Linked DNA regions of Homo sapiens: region 1 is linked to region 2. The links are contacts of gene promoters, found by promoter capture Hi-C in blood cells and fetal thymus (Javierre and others, 2016). All regions are on one chromosome and are shown on one strand. The core of a region is centred on a gene start or on the middle of the fragment in contact, and the rest is flanking DNA. Distances in the headings are between cores, read along the strand shown.

Region 1 (6,554 bases), core at 3,077-5,576, 1.2 Mb before region 2:
TTCTTATTTGCAGCCTTTTACACGAAGGAACTGAACAGGAGGTGGATTGTACTCGTTAGTGTATATATTTCCTGTATTTAACTTTATGCTCATTTCAGCTTCTGAAAATGAGGAGCAGGTTTAAATTTAGAGTAGATTAAAAAAAAACCCACATAAAAACAGAAACACCTATAAATAGCTTACTGAAATTATTAGAGTAGAGCTGACTTCAGAATCAGACTTTTGCAGTGTCTACTTAGTAGAATGGTTTTGCATTTAGTTTGGAGCTGTGAAGTAGTGAATTTGCAAACTGGTCAATCTCCAGTGTGCTTCATTTGGTAGTTAACTGTTCCTGAATGATGAGGGGTGTGCCTCATCAAGTACTCAACATTCTGGTTGCAGGTCATTTCATCATGTTCCAAGAAAAAAACGTAGTCAAAGTACTTACTGAAAAAAAAATAAATAAATAAATAAATCAGCGCTGGGCGTGGTGGCTCCCGCCTATAATCTCAGCACTTTGGGAGGCCGAGGCAGGTGGATCACCTGAGCTCAGGAGTTCAAGACTAGCCTGGCCAACGTGGTGAAACTCCATGTCTACTAAAAATACAAAATTAGCTGGGCGTGGTGGTACGCGCCTGTAATCCCAGCTACTCGGGAGGCTGAGGCAGGAGAATTGCTTGAACCCAGGAGGTGGAGGTTGCAGTGAGCCGGGATCGCGCCATTGTAATCCAGCCTGGGTAAAAAAGAGCAAAACTCCATCTCAAAAATGATAAATAAATATAAATAAATAAATCAGATATGGAAATCAGGTTCAGATAAGGGAGATACCTTTAGGGTGGAGACTAAATGTTGGGAGTTTTCACATAGTTTGTGTCTCCATTCCATAGAGTTTTACGGCTGAGGAAACAGGTATTGAAGAAATAAAAAGTGAATATTTGAGGCATTTCTGAGGTCCTGCTTTTAAGTCATACCACGGTTTTGCCTGATTCTAGGGATAGGGTTCAGAATTTATTTTCTCTCTAATGTAAATTCTGAAAGATAAGAAGATGAGTGTCATTATTTTCCTCCCACATCTTAGTCATTGAACTAAAATTCCTGAGCAGAGAAATGGAGTGAAAATTAGACTAGATGGGAAAATCTGGAAGCTTACTTTCTGATTACTTGCTATCTAGTTAAGTTTTTCTCTTTCTTTCCTTCTTTCTTTTCTTTTCTTTCTTTCTTTCTTTTTCTTTCTTTCTTCTTTCTCTCTCTTTCTTTCTTTCTCTTCTTTCTTTTCTTTCTTTCTTTTTTCTTTTTTTTTTTTTTTTTTTGTGACGGGGCCTCTCTCTGTCGCCCAGGCTGGAGTGCAGCGGCATGATCTTGGCTCACTGCAGCCTCTGTCTCCGGGGTTCAACCTCCCGAGTAGCTGGGATTACAGGGGTGTACCACCACACCTGGCTAATTTTTGCATTTTTGGTAGAGGTGGGGTTTCACCATGTTGACCAGACTGGTCTGCTGACCTCAGGTAATCCACCTACCACAGCCTCCCAAAGTGCTGGGATTACAGGAGTGAGCCACCTTACCCGGCCCTAGTTAAATTTGCCTAAAAGATTATTTTATTTCAACGTTGTGCATTGTTGAAGCAGAAGAATGAGGATTGAAGATTCTGATGTGCTTTTTTTCAATCAGATATACTGATAAAATTGATATGTTTACCAGCTTGTATTGGGATGTTAATAAGTGTTAGGAAAAAAGATCCTCTGGTCCAGTAAATTTGGGAAGCAACATATTAAATCGCGTGGTAATGTTTTGTTTTGTTTTTTGATTGGAGGATTTCTTGGAATCTTTAATGTATTAATAATAAGCATTGAGAATCTCCCAGAGAAGAATAGTGTGTCTATTTTCCAAATTTATTTTATCTTCCTTTTTCTTGGTAGTTTGGAATATACTTTGTCCTTTTTATTTGCATTATTTTTGGTTTTGCTGAGTGTCAAGTCACTTAAGCTATCCCTAGCTTTTAACAGATTTTGCTATTGTTTTTATAAATGTGAAGTTATACCCTTCTGATTCGACGGTGTATATAAAATGGAATTTTGGGGATGGGCGCGGTGGCTCACGCCTGCAATCCCAGCACTTTGGGAGGCTGAGGTGGGTGGATCACCTGAGGTCAGGAGTTTGAGACCAGCCTGACCAACATGGTGAAACCCTGTCTCTACTAAAAATCCAAAAAAATTAGCCGGGCGTAGTGGCGCATGCCTGTAATCCTAGTTACTCGGAAGCCCGAGGCAGGAGAATCTCTTGAACCCAGGAGGTGGAGGTTGCAGTGAGCTGAGATAGTGCCATTCTACTCCAGCCTGGGCGACAAGAGTGAGAGACTGTCTCAAAATAAATAAATAAATAAGTAAATAAATAAATAAATAAATGGAATGTTTGCAAATGAGATCCTTTTTAAAAGCAGTAAAGGAACTTGCAATTTTAAAGTATCCTAAAATGAATTTTTCAAAAGTTTTTTGTAATTATACTGTCTAATGGCTTTGGAGATAATTGAGGGATGCTGAGATTGGCTGCTAGGATTGGTCATAAAACCAGTACTATTAACATATCCTTACATATACTGGATATGAAGAAGTTGTGAGAGAAAATAATTGCTTAATAAGCATTTCTTCAATTGTCCCCTGGAAATGGAGGTTAATAGGTTCTGGTAATGAGCAGTAGAAGGCGGGAAAGGGTTTTGTAACACAAGTTTGGGAAATTCTGCTCTTGGAGATTCACAATTAGCAAGATTAAAGGTTCCAGAAAGTTCTAAATATATACCTAACTTTAACCAGGTAGTTCTTAAACCTTTAATTATGAAACCTTTCTTTACTTCATTCCTTTTTAGCATCCGGTGAAATAGTGTTCTGTTTCTGTGGTTTGAGAATTTTTTGACCGTATATTTCAGGTGCCTAGAAAGTGTTAGAAGATACTTGCAGGTATTTGAAATGATGGCTTTATACTTGGCACTCTGCCCTTTGCAGAGATGACTAAAATAAGAGAGTTGCCTTCAAGAAATTGCTGCCTGATCAGAGGAAAGAAAATGAATGCACATGCAACAGCTTCAGGTGAAAATACACAGTCCTTGTTCATTGCCATGTCATAGACCACAAGTAGAATGAGTAGAAATTTAGAGACTGGAGAGCTCTGGGGTTTGGGTTTCTGTGTTAGGTTCAGGAATGTTCTGGGTGATGGGGCAGGACTTTTACTCAACTTGTAGAGTATTAGTATACTGTGAGAGGTAATCATTAATGGCATATGTTAACCGTCAGTGAATGGAGGCGGAAATAGTTTGAGAACTACTACCAGATGAAGGAGGAAATAGAAGTGCCAGGAAAACAGACCAAGGAACAGTGGTTAAAGGCAGAAGAGTTCCAAAGTAGTATATTGCCTTGAACAGAGTCTATAAAAGTAGAAAAAGGTCATTCATATGTAATACTGCAGAGAAGTTAATTGGATATGGTTATGAAGAAATTATTAGAGAAATTGCATATGTCAAGGCAGAAGGGTCTCAGTTTGTGTTTAGGAGGAGGGCTGCAAGTAATATGAAAAAGAAGAGGATTTTGGGATTGAGGTCCCCTGGGAGTGTTGAGAAGTTGAATTCTAGAGCTGTGGTTCCTGACCTACAAGCCCTGAAGTTGTTACAGGGTGTTCATTGCTTATTCATATGCTTATAACTTTGTCTGTAAGTTGAATAAAGATTGTTCTAGATCATTGAATAATAAAAATTTAACCCATTGTTGTGAAGGAGCCTCAGAATATTTTGATGTTAACAAAAGAGTTCTGTATTTACAAAGTTGGAGAAACACTCATCAAGAGTTAGGAGTAAGGCCCAGTGTGGGGTTCCCTCTGGTAATACCAGCATTTTGGGAGGCTGAGGTGGGCGAATCACTTGAGGTCAGGAGTTTGAGACCAGCCTGGCCAACATAGCGAAGCCCCATCTCTACTAAAAATACAAAAATTAGCCAGCTGTTGTGGTACGCACCTGTAATCCCAGCTACTTGGGAGGCTAAGGGAGGAGAAGTGCTTGGACCTGGGAGGTGAAGGTTGCAGTGAGCTGAGAACACGCCACTGTACCCCAGCCTGGGTGACTGAGTGACACTCTGTCTCAATTAAAAAAAAAAAAAAGAGTTATAAGTAGCCAGTGTTTTGGCTTACACCTGTAATCCCAGCCACTCAGGAAGCTGAGGCAGGAGGATTGCTTGACGCTAGGAGTTCAAGATCAGCCCGGGCAACATAGTGAGATCCCATCTCTATTAAAAAAAAAAAAATTAGCCAGGCATGGTGGTGCATACCTGTAGTCCAGTCTACTTAGAAGACTGAGGTGGGAGGATTGAGTCCAGGAGTTTGAGGCTGCAGTGAGCTATGATTGTGCTGCTGCACTCCAGCCTGGGTACTGGGTGACAGAGCAGGACTGTTAAAAAAAAAAAAAAAAGTTACAAGTAGGGGAGAGGCTAGCTTCAGAGAGTAGTATGTGTAATATGTCTCTCTTGAGATTACAAGGAAGGATGAGAAGTATTTATATATTGTTAAACTGTTGAAAAGAAGATGGGTGAGGGGCAGTGACTCATGCTTGTGAACTCAGCATTTTGGGAGGCTGAGGTGGGAGGATCACTTGAGGCTTGGAGTTTGATACCAGCCCGGACAGCATATTGAGACCTTGTCTCTATATTTTAAAAACAAAAAAAGAAAATGAAGACTTTAATTCTGGCCAGGCGCAGTGGCTCACGCCTATAATCCCAGCACTTTGGGAGGCCGAGGCGGGCAGATCACCTGAGGTCAGGAGTTCGAGACCAGCCTGGCCAGCGTGGTGAAACCCTGTCACTGCTAAAAATACAAAAATTAGCCAGGCGTGGTAACACACGCCTGTAATCCCAGCTGCTGCTCAAGAGGCTGAGGCGGGAGAATCGCTTGAACTCAGGAGGTGGAGGTTGCAGTGAGCTGAGATAGCGCCACTGCCCTCCAGCCTGGGTGACAGAACGAGACTCTGTCTAAAAAAAAAAAAGACTTTAATTCTATAAAGTAAGAATCTACCAAAAATGAAAAAGAAGCTGGGAAGAGAAAATGAGGATTTGAGAGTAGTATGTAGCTTAGACTCTAAAATAATATCTGGGAGAAGTTTGAAAGTTAAGCAAGTGATGAATTAATAGGATTGGTCAGCAGTTCGGAGGGCCCATCCGAAAGTGGACCGAAATGGATAGGATAGATGAGTTCTCCTTGGCTGTCATAGTTCAGTGTAGAGATGCTCAGAGACTAGGAGTCAGAGCACAGTGGACCCAGAGGGTTTGACTTGGCAGTATGATGAAAAATTGTAGTCTGATGTGAATGGTCAGAAGAGAGAGAGATGGAATATTTGAAGATTGTGAGCAGGAAGTACATGCTTTTTTTTCTCAAGAAAGATGATGACATAGGTTGACTGTGAGGGAATGTATAGAGATGTCATGACTTAACTAGTGATTTGAGCTCCAGAATGTTAAATGTGCAAGAGACGTGTCATGGAGCCCCTTCTAGTGGCAATAGTTACAGTAAAGTAGGGGAGACATGAACCAATTAAACACACAAATAATTGAAAGTCTTAATTGTTTCACTCCATATGTTATTTTTGTATGTGTGATTTATTTTATTTTACTTTTACATTTTTTATTTTTTTGAGACAGAGTCTCACTGTGTCGCCCAGCCTGGAGTGCAGTGGCGCAATCTCGGCCCACTTCACCCTCTGCCCCACCTCCTGGGCTCAAGTGATTCTTCTGCCTCAGCCTCCTGAGTAGCTGGGACAGGCACGCGTCACCATGCCTGGCTAGGAATTTTGTATTTTTAATGGAGACGGGGTTTCACCATGTTGGCCAGGCTGATCTCGAACTCCTGACCTCAAGTGATCCACCCTCCTCAGCCTCCCAAATTGCTGGGATTACAGGCGTGAGCCACGGCATCTGGCCTTTATATGTGCTTTTAGGATTGTAGAAGATGTACCTTGGCTGGATGCATTGGCTCATGCCTGTAATCCCAGCACTTTGGGAGGCCGAAACAAGAGGATCGCTTGAGTCCAGGAGTTCGAGACCAGCCTGGGCAATGTAGTAAGACCTCATTTCTACAAGAAATAAAAAAATAACTGGGCGTGGTAGCTTACGTCTGTAATCCCAGCTACTCCAGAGGCTGAGGCAGGAGAATTGCTTGAACCTGGGAGACAGGTTGCAGTGAGCCAAGATCGCATCACTATACTCCAGCCTTGGCGACAAGAGCAAAACTCCATCTCAAAAATTAAAAATAAATAAGTAAATAAATAAATAAATTACAGGCACATTAGCATGTGCCTGTGGTCCCAGCTACTTGGGAGGCTGAGATGAGGGGATCACTTGAGTCCAGGAGGTGGTGGTTTTAATGAGCTGGGATTGTGCCACTGTACTCCAGCCTGGGCGACAGAGCAGACCCCTGGTGAAAAGAAAAAAGAAAATGTATCTCAAATAATACTTAATTTTAAAGAAATCTTAAATGTAGAATGTGATTCCATAATTATAATATTGACTAGTTCACTGCAACCTTGAACCCCTGGGCTCAAGTGATTC
Region 2 (6,307 bases), core at 2,689-5,188:
GAAATGTTCACATTGAATATTTTTAAAGTCCCCATTTTAGATATCATGGAATTACTCACCTCCACCTGAAAGCCGAGAATAAAAGCTTTCACAAAATCAGCTGCTTTTGTCAGAGCACTAACATCCTTGGTTTCTTTACAAGTCTGTTAAAAAACAAAAAAGGGTACAAAATACCGTTGAGAATCAAACAGAAAATGTCCTAACAAAATACTGGAAATGTCCTTTCCCATTATTGGAGAATTTCCTTCACCACCACCTTTCCCTAATATATTCTGTATGACACAGGTTCTGGTCAGATAAGTGCTGTACTTTATTTGCAAAACAAAACGTTCCCAGCTCCAAAGCTTGGCTGTTCCACCCAAAGAGTGTCAAATAACTAACCGCACTATATGATCAGATTTTGGGGTTAACAGCAAGACTCCTCTGGCACAACCCAATCTCTCCCATTCTGAAGAACCTCTACCTTCTGTCCATCCCTTCAATGCCCAATGTCCTCTTCTCTTCTCTCTCAAGGCAGTCTTCCCTGGGATTCCTGACTTAATCTTCTTAGTTATCATTTATATGCTGATGTTTCTTAAACCAACAGCTCCAGGCCTAACTACCTGCATGCACTGATTGGGGAAATAAAGAATGAATGAAGCACTGAACCTGTCCTCAAAGTTTATTTGAGAAATGCAGAAATAACTGTTATTCATAAAAAGCCTACCACTGTAAATAACACGTACTATAAATAACATGCTTTACACACCATAACTCTAACCTTCACAACAACTTTGAATGTTAAGTGATATGACTACCTTCGTATGTGAGGAAACTAAAGTACTAAAAAGCAAAAAAGGTAAGATTTAAACACAGGTCTGATTTCAAAACTGTTATTTCCACTGTCCCATGCACATTCACAGTCTAGTTGAAGAGACCACGTATTCAACAAATGTAAAACCATATGGGCTTGTGCAATGGGAGAGTCCCCAGAGCTTTCCCATTTAAAACTAGACCCTAGTTCCAATCCTATATGTGACCTTAGACAAGTCCCATAGATACTTTAGGTCTTGAGTTTTCTCATCAGTAAAATGAGGAGGTCAGAGTAGAAGATCCTGAGTGTTCCCTACTAGTATAATAGAAAATTTCCCTTATTAGACTGATGACTGTGGCCAAGTTTCCTCACATCTTTAAGATGGGAATATCCTGAAGACTAAATGATGTAGAGCATGGTGTAATACCACTGTGTGTCTGGTATATGGCAGCATCAACAAATGTTAGTGGAATCCAAAGTGATTATCCTGCAATAAATAGGACAATAAAGCACATGAAAAGTTTAGGCACTGAAGATATGACTGAAAAATGGACATACCATAACAGAGAAAGAACTTGAGCTAGACCCGGAAAGATACTGGAACTGAAGTATAAAGAGAAAGGAGTAGGGAGGAGCGGACCTCTTTCAAAGGCCAAAGCCACCAAAAAGTATGGACATAAACAAACTTTATGATCCGTGAGAGACAAACTTGTGACTGAGTCTCCTACTTGAAAAGCAAGTTAAGTCCAAAACTTTTTCCTTTAGAAATGTTGAAGATGCTCACGCCTGTAATCCCAGCACTTTGGGAGGCAGAGGCGGGTAGATCATGAGGTCAGGAGATCAAGACCATCCTGGCTAACACGGTGAAACCCTGTCTCTACTAAAAAATACAAAAAATTAGCCGGGCGTGGTGGTGGGTGCCTGTAGTCCCAGCTACTCAGGAGGCTGAGGCAGGAGAATGGCATGAATCCAGGAGGCGGAGCTTGCAGTGAGCCGAGATTGCGACACTGCACTCCAGCCTGGGCAACGGAGCAAGACTCTATCTCAAAAAAAAAAAAAAAAAAAAAATTTTTTTTTGTTTTTTGAAGATGCCAGGATGTCATAAAAGCATTGTGATCTGGGAAACTTAATCTGGCACTGGCAGATGGATGAGTGGAGAAAGGAGAGACGTCAAACAATGAAGCAAGGGAAACCTACAACGAAACCACTCCTTGGCAGGAAACCATAAAAGCCTGAATGAGAGAATGGCAACAGGGACAAAGAGGAGTTACTCTATCATGTTCTATGATATTTTACACTTTATCAACTATTTAGAATAGTGCCTTTCTTTGTTCCATTATTATATTCCATTAACAGAGATGAGACTATACCAGTCCGGATGATGGTAAAAGAATCCTTAAAAAGGAAAATATAATTAATTTCGGTTATCGATTCTGGTATGAAATTGGCACCCAGAAAAGAAAGCCCAAAGTAAATTTAAATGTCTAATTCCCGGATTGATAGCACAGAATTTAAAATATATACATAGGCTCGGTGGGGCAGCTCACGCCTGTAATCCCAGCACTTTGGGAGGCCGAGATGTGATCACCTGAGGTCAGGAGTTCGAGACTAGCCTGGCCAACATGCTAAAACCCAGTCTCTACTAAAAATACAAAAATTAGCCAGGTTTGGTGGCAGGCACCTGTTAACAGTGAGCCAAGATCATGCCACTCACTCCAGCCTGGGTGAAAGAGCAAAATAAAAAGATATATATACACACACACACACACACACACACATATATATGCATGTTTCTTATCAAAATAATACATTTTTTAATCAAAAGAGCACCATTAAAACACAGTCATGCACTGCATAATGACATTTTGATCAGTGACCAACCGCTCATACCATGGTGGTCTCATAACAGTATAATGGAGAATATACAGAAACCTGATATATGGCACTGGATACCGGCAATGCAGATCAAGTAGATGAAATGACTGATATTCAGTAATGGTGCTGGGACATTTGGTTTTCCATATGAAAAAAATATATAAACAAATATACACATACCATCTAGGTTTGTGTAAGTACACTCTATAATATTCGCACAAGGACTAAGTCATCTGACAAAACATATCCCAGAACATATTCCCGACGCTGACTGTATATACTTCTTGTAAAGCAGCAAGTGCTTATATTCATTATTTACCTGCTTCTGTTTATGGCAATCTCTTTACTCGACCTTTTCTCAATTTGACATAGAACATTATAAAAGATACACAGAAGAAGAGCCAGTATTTTGGTGTGATCTCAGAACTAATTTACAAATTCAATTAATATTTGTATCGAATGCAGATTTTTAAGGCATTTGGGAAGTTCAAACTCAATATGGTAAATTTTTAAACTGGACAAAAACCATACAACAGAAAAGTCCCATTAAGTAAAGCCTATTCATGCCTTTTCATCTCTGTAGGAGAGAAAGCCTGGTGTATTGGGAAATGATTGAGATTTTCCTTACCCTGATTTCTACATTCCTTGATTTCAAGTTAAAGCGTATCTGAAGTCCCAAATGTTCCACAATAGGAGTAAATATCTTCATCCAGTTTTCTTTCAATGGTGTGTATCTGTTAGCTGGGACTGGAATTTTCCTTGTTTCTTCTTTCCCACTCTGTAAATAAAAGAACACACAACTCAGAAGGCTATGGAGGGACGGTGATGGAGTTTAAAATGACATCTGATCCACAAAGGGCCTCCTTTAACTGAACTAGTTACACTTCAAAGAATCACTTCTCTCTGAGCATCACGGCAGAACAGCCCCACCGCAGCTTCAACATTCTCCAGAGGCCATCGGCTTGATCCGCGTCTGGCCCTTGCCTCGTTGCTGTCCTAGGGTCCCAGCCACATACCAGGAGCCCGTCCCCACAGAGGGGTGGGAAGACGGGCCTCTTCGCCGGCCTGGCCTCCTCTGTGTCCATGCGGCCCGCATCCCCGCCCTCTCCTGCTGCGGACAGCTGTTCAGCCTGTCGTTTCTTCGCCCGTCGGCCACCCTTGCGGGTGACCTGGGTAAAGCCCTCCTCTGCCCTGGCGCTCTGCGTTTCCATTTCGGATTCCATCCCCGGAAATCTTAAAGCGCTGCCGGCTGAAACACGTGCGCAGCTGCACCACGCAGAAGCCAGCCTCAGCCAACCACCCCTGCAGCTCCGCCCCTTTCCTAAAACGTCACAGGCCGGGGACCTGCAGGATTTGGGGCCGGTGGGGGGGAAAACGGGGTTAGGCTGTCCTAAGATATGCCTGATGGTCTTGGGCTCACTCCAGCCGCGCAACTCCCAGCCCAAGTATTTTGTAATCTCTAGTATGTATGTGTGCGAAAGGCAGTGGGTAAAGGCGATAAACAAATTCGTGCTGTTGTGAAGGAACATTCTGTGCGATCGCAGGAGCGCATCTGGCATTATCCGGGGATAACTACAGCCAACATGCCAGGGCATCTGGGGCAGAATACGGAAAGCGGGAGGGACAAATTGCCAATGTTTGGAGTCTGGTTTCCAGGTTGCCGTTTTTGGGGGCTCTGGGTGTGGCGGTTGCCGTAGCTGAAATTGGCTGCACCATGTCGGCCTTCGAGAAGCCTCAGATCATCGCCCATATCCAGAAGGGCTTCAACTACACGGTGTTTGACTGTAAGTGGGTGCCCTGCAGCGCCAAATTTGTGACCATGGGCAACTTCGCACGGGGCACCGGCGTCATTCAGCTGTACGAGATCCAGCACGGGGACCTGAAGCTGCTTCGGGAGGTGGGTGCCGGGTCGAGGATCCGGACTGCCGTTGGGGGCGAGTGCGGATCCTGGGGTCTGCATTCCTCTTTGCCAGAGCCTTCGCCCAGCGTCCCCCAAAGCATGGCTTGAGCCGCGCGAGACCAGAGAAGCTGACCGCCGACTGAGGAATGTTTCCTATTTAAAACCTTTCTTCTCATCCGCGGGGTAGTTCCTCCGCGCCCAACCGTCCTGCCACCCCCAGTGCAGTCCAGCCAAAGCGGGCACCAGGATGCCTGCAGTGTGGTTGGAAGAGGCAACCTAACACATTCGACAGGCATCAGCTGAGTGCCTGGTATTCCCAGGGATGTGAATGGTAATGTCCCCCATCTCATGGAGTTTATTTTCTAGTGGGAGAGATACTCAGTTCAATAATCAAAGCAACGATACATAAATACAAACCGAGATGAGTTGTCTCACACAAAGGAACACGGTTACGGTTCAATGAGAGTGAAAACAGATTTGGGATGAATGAAAACAGATTTTGGTATGTGCAGAAGCTAACTAGGTCAAACTAGGAGTAAAGGACAAGGTTTCCAGGGCTTCTGCACATGCAGAAGCTCAGTGATGGGAAGAAGTTTATCTCCTTAAGAAACTAGAGGGATAAGCAGGAACCAGACATTGCAAGATCTGTAGGACATTCAAAGGATTTATGCCTTTTTTCTAAGAAAAAACGGACACAACTGAAAGGATTTAAGCAGGGTGTGGAAAGATTAGGTTTGCAAGGTTTTTTTGAAGATTACTAGTGAAAGAATTAGAGAATAATGATAGTAACTAGCATTTTATAGCTGTTTATAGTTTTTAAAAAGTGTTGATTTTGTTACCTGAAAAAATGATCAGTCATTATCAGATCAGGGTTGTAATAGACTACAAGTGCAGGGTAGGTTAACTCTGGGGATCAAAACCTATGGAGAGAATCTGCTTGGAGGAGGTAGGGATTAAACTGGTAGATAAAGGATGAATACAATTTGGACTGTTAAGCCTAGAATAGAAAGTATGTAAGACCCCATCCCGCTTTAAGTTTCCCTGAATGACAAACATGAAACATGGCTTATTTTTTTCTACCTTTCCTTCGTTCCTTGTATTGTTCATCACTTAGCTTCTGGTAACCAGTGGCTTTTTTTTTTTTTTTTTTTTTTTTGAGACAGGGTCTCAATCTGTCACCCAGCCCGGAGTGCTGTGGTGCAAACACAGCTCACTGCAACCTCCGCCTCCCCACCTCAGCCTCCCAAGTAGCTGGGACTACAGGTGTGTGCCACCACACCTAACTAATTTTTTTGTACTTTTTATTTTTTTATTTTTTATTTTGGTAGAGATGGGGTTTCACCGTGTTGCCTAGGCTGGTCTCCAACTCCTGGGCTCAAGCAGTCTGCCTACATCGGCCTCCCGTAATACTGGGATTACAGGCGTGAGCCACCAAGCCTGGCTACCTGTTGCTATTCCAATGTTCAGTTCAGATTATCTAATGTATGATGCCCTTCCTGATTTCTACACAAAGTAAAATTTCTTTACATTGCATTTTGGGTTGTTTTTGTTTTTTGTTGTTGTTGTTTAGGGATGGCGTAGCTCTGTCCCAGTCCGGAGTGCAGTGCTACTGTCATAGCTCATCGCAGCCTGGAACTCCTGGGCTCAAACCATCCTCCCGCCTCTCCCTCCCAAAGTGCTGGATCAGGTGTGAGCCACCATTAAAAAGAAAAGGTATTTAAAGGATTTATTCCTTTTTC

What was found. Contacts are between HindIII fragments. The CHiCAGO score rates a contact against its expected background, and 5 or more counts as called.
Region 1: a contact is called between a fragment that was not itself captured here and the fragment with the promoter of PNO1 in region 2, in 1 of 17 cell types (neutrophils). The highest score is 6.0, in neutrophils.

The regions. Positions count from the first base shown.
Region 1 is chr2:69,379,429-69,385,982 of GRCh38, reverse strand. The region is part of intron 1 of GFPT1 (glutamine--fructose-6-phosphate transaminase 1); the gene reads left to right. Among named protein-coding and RNA genes, the nearest start is that of GFPT1, 4.5 kb to the left of the region's middle. RefSeq lists an enhancer at 4,463-4,512. The HindIII fragment of the contact is 6,399 bases long and covers 1,127-6,554 here.
Region 2 is chr2:68,155,519-68,161,825 of GRCh38, reverse strand. PNO1 (partner of NOB1 homolog) reads right to left here and starts at 3,938. Exons shown (of 7, transcript NM_020143.4): 1 at 3,685-3,938; 2 at 3,297-3,446; 3 at 60-143. The coding sequence starts at 3,891. It overlaps DNAAF10 (dynein axonemal assembly factor 10), which reads left to right and starts at 4,299. Exons shown (of 8, transcript NM_138458.4): 1 at 4,299-4,565. The coding sequence starts at 4,383. RefSeq lists enhancers at 3,627-3,726, 4,007-4,246, 4,527-4,666, 4,124-5,056. The HindIII fragment of the contact is 6,016 bases long and covers 347-6,307 here.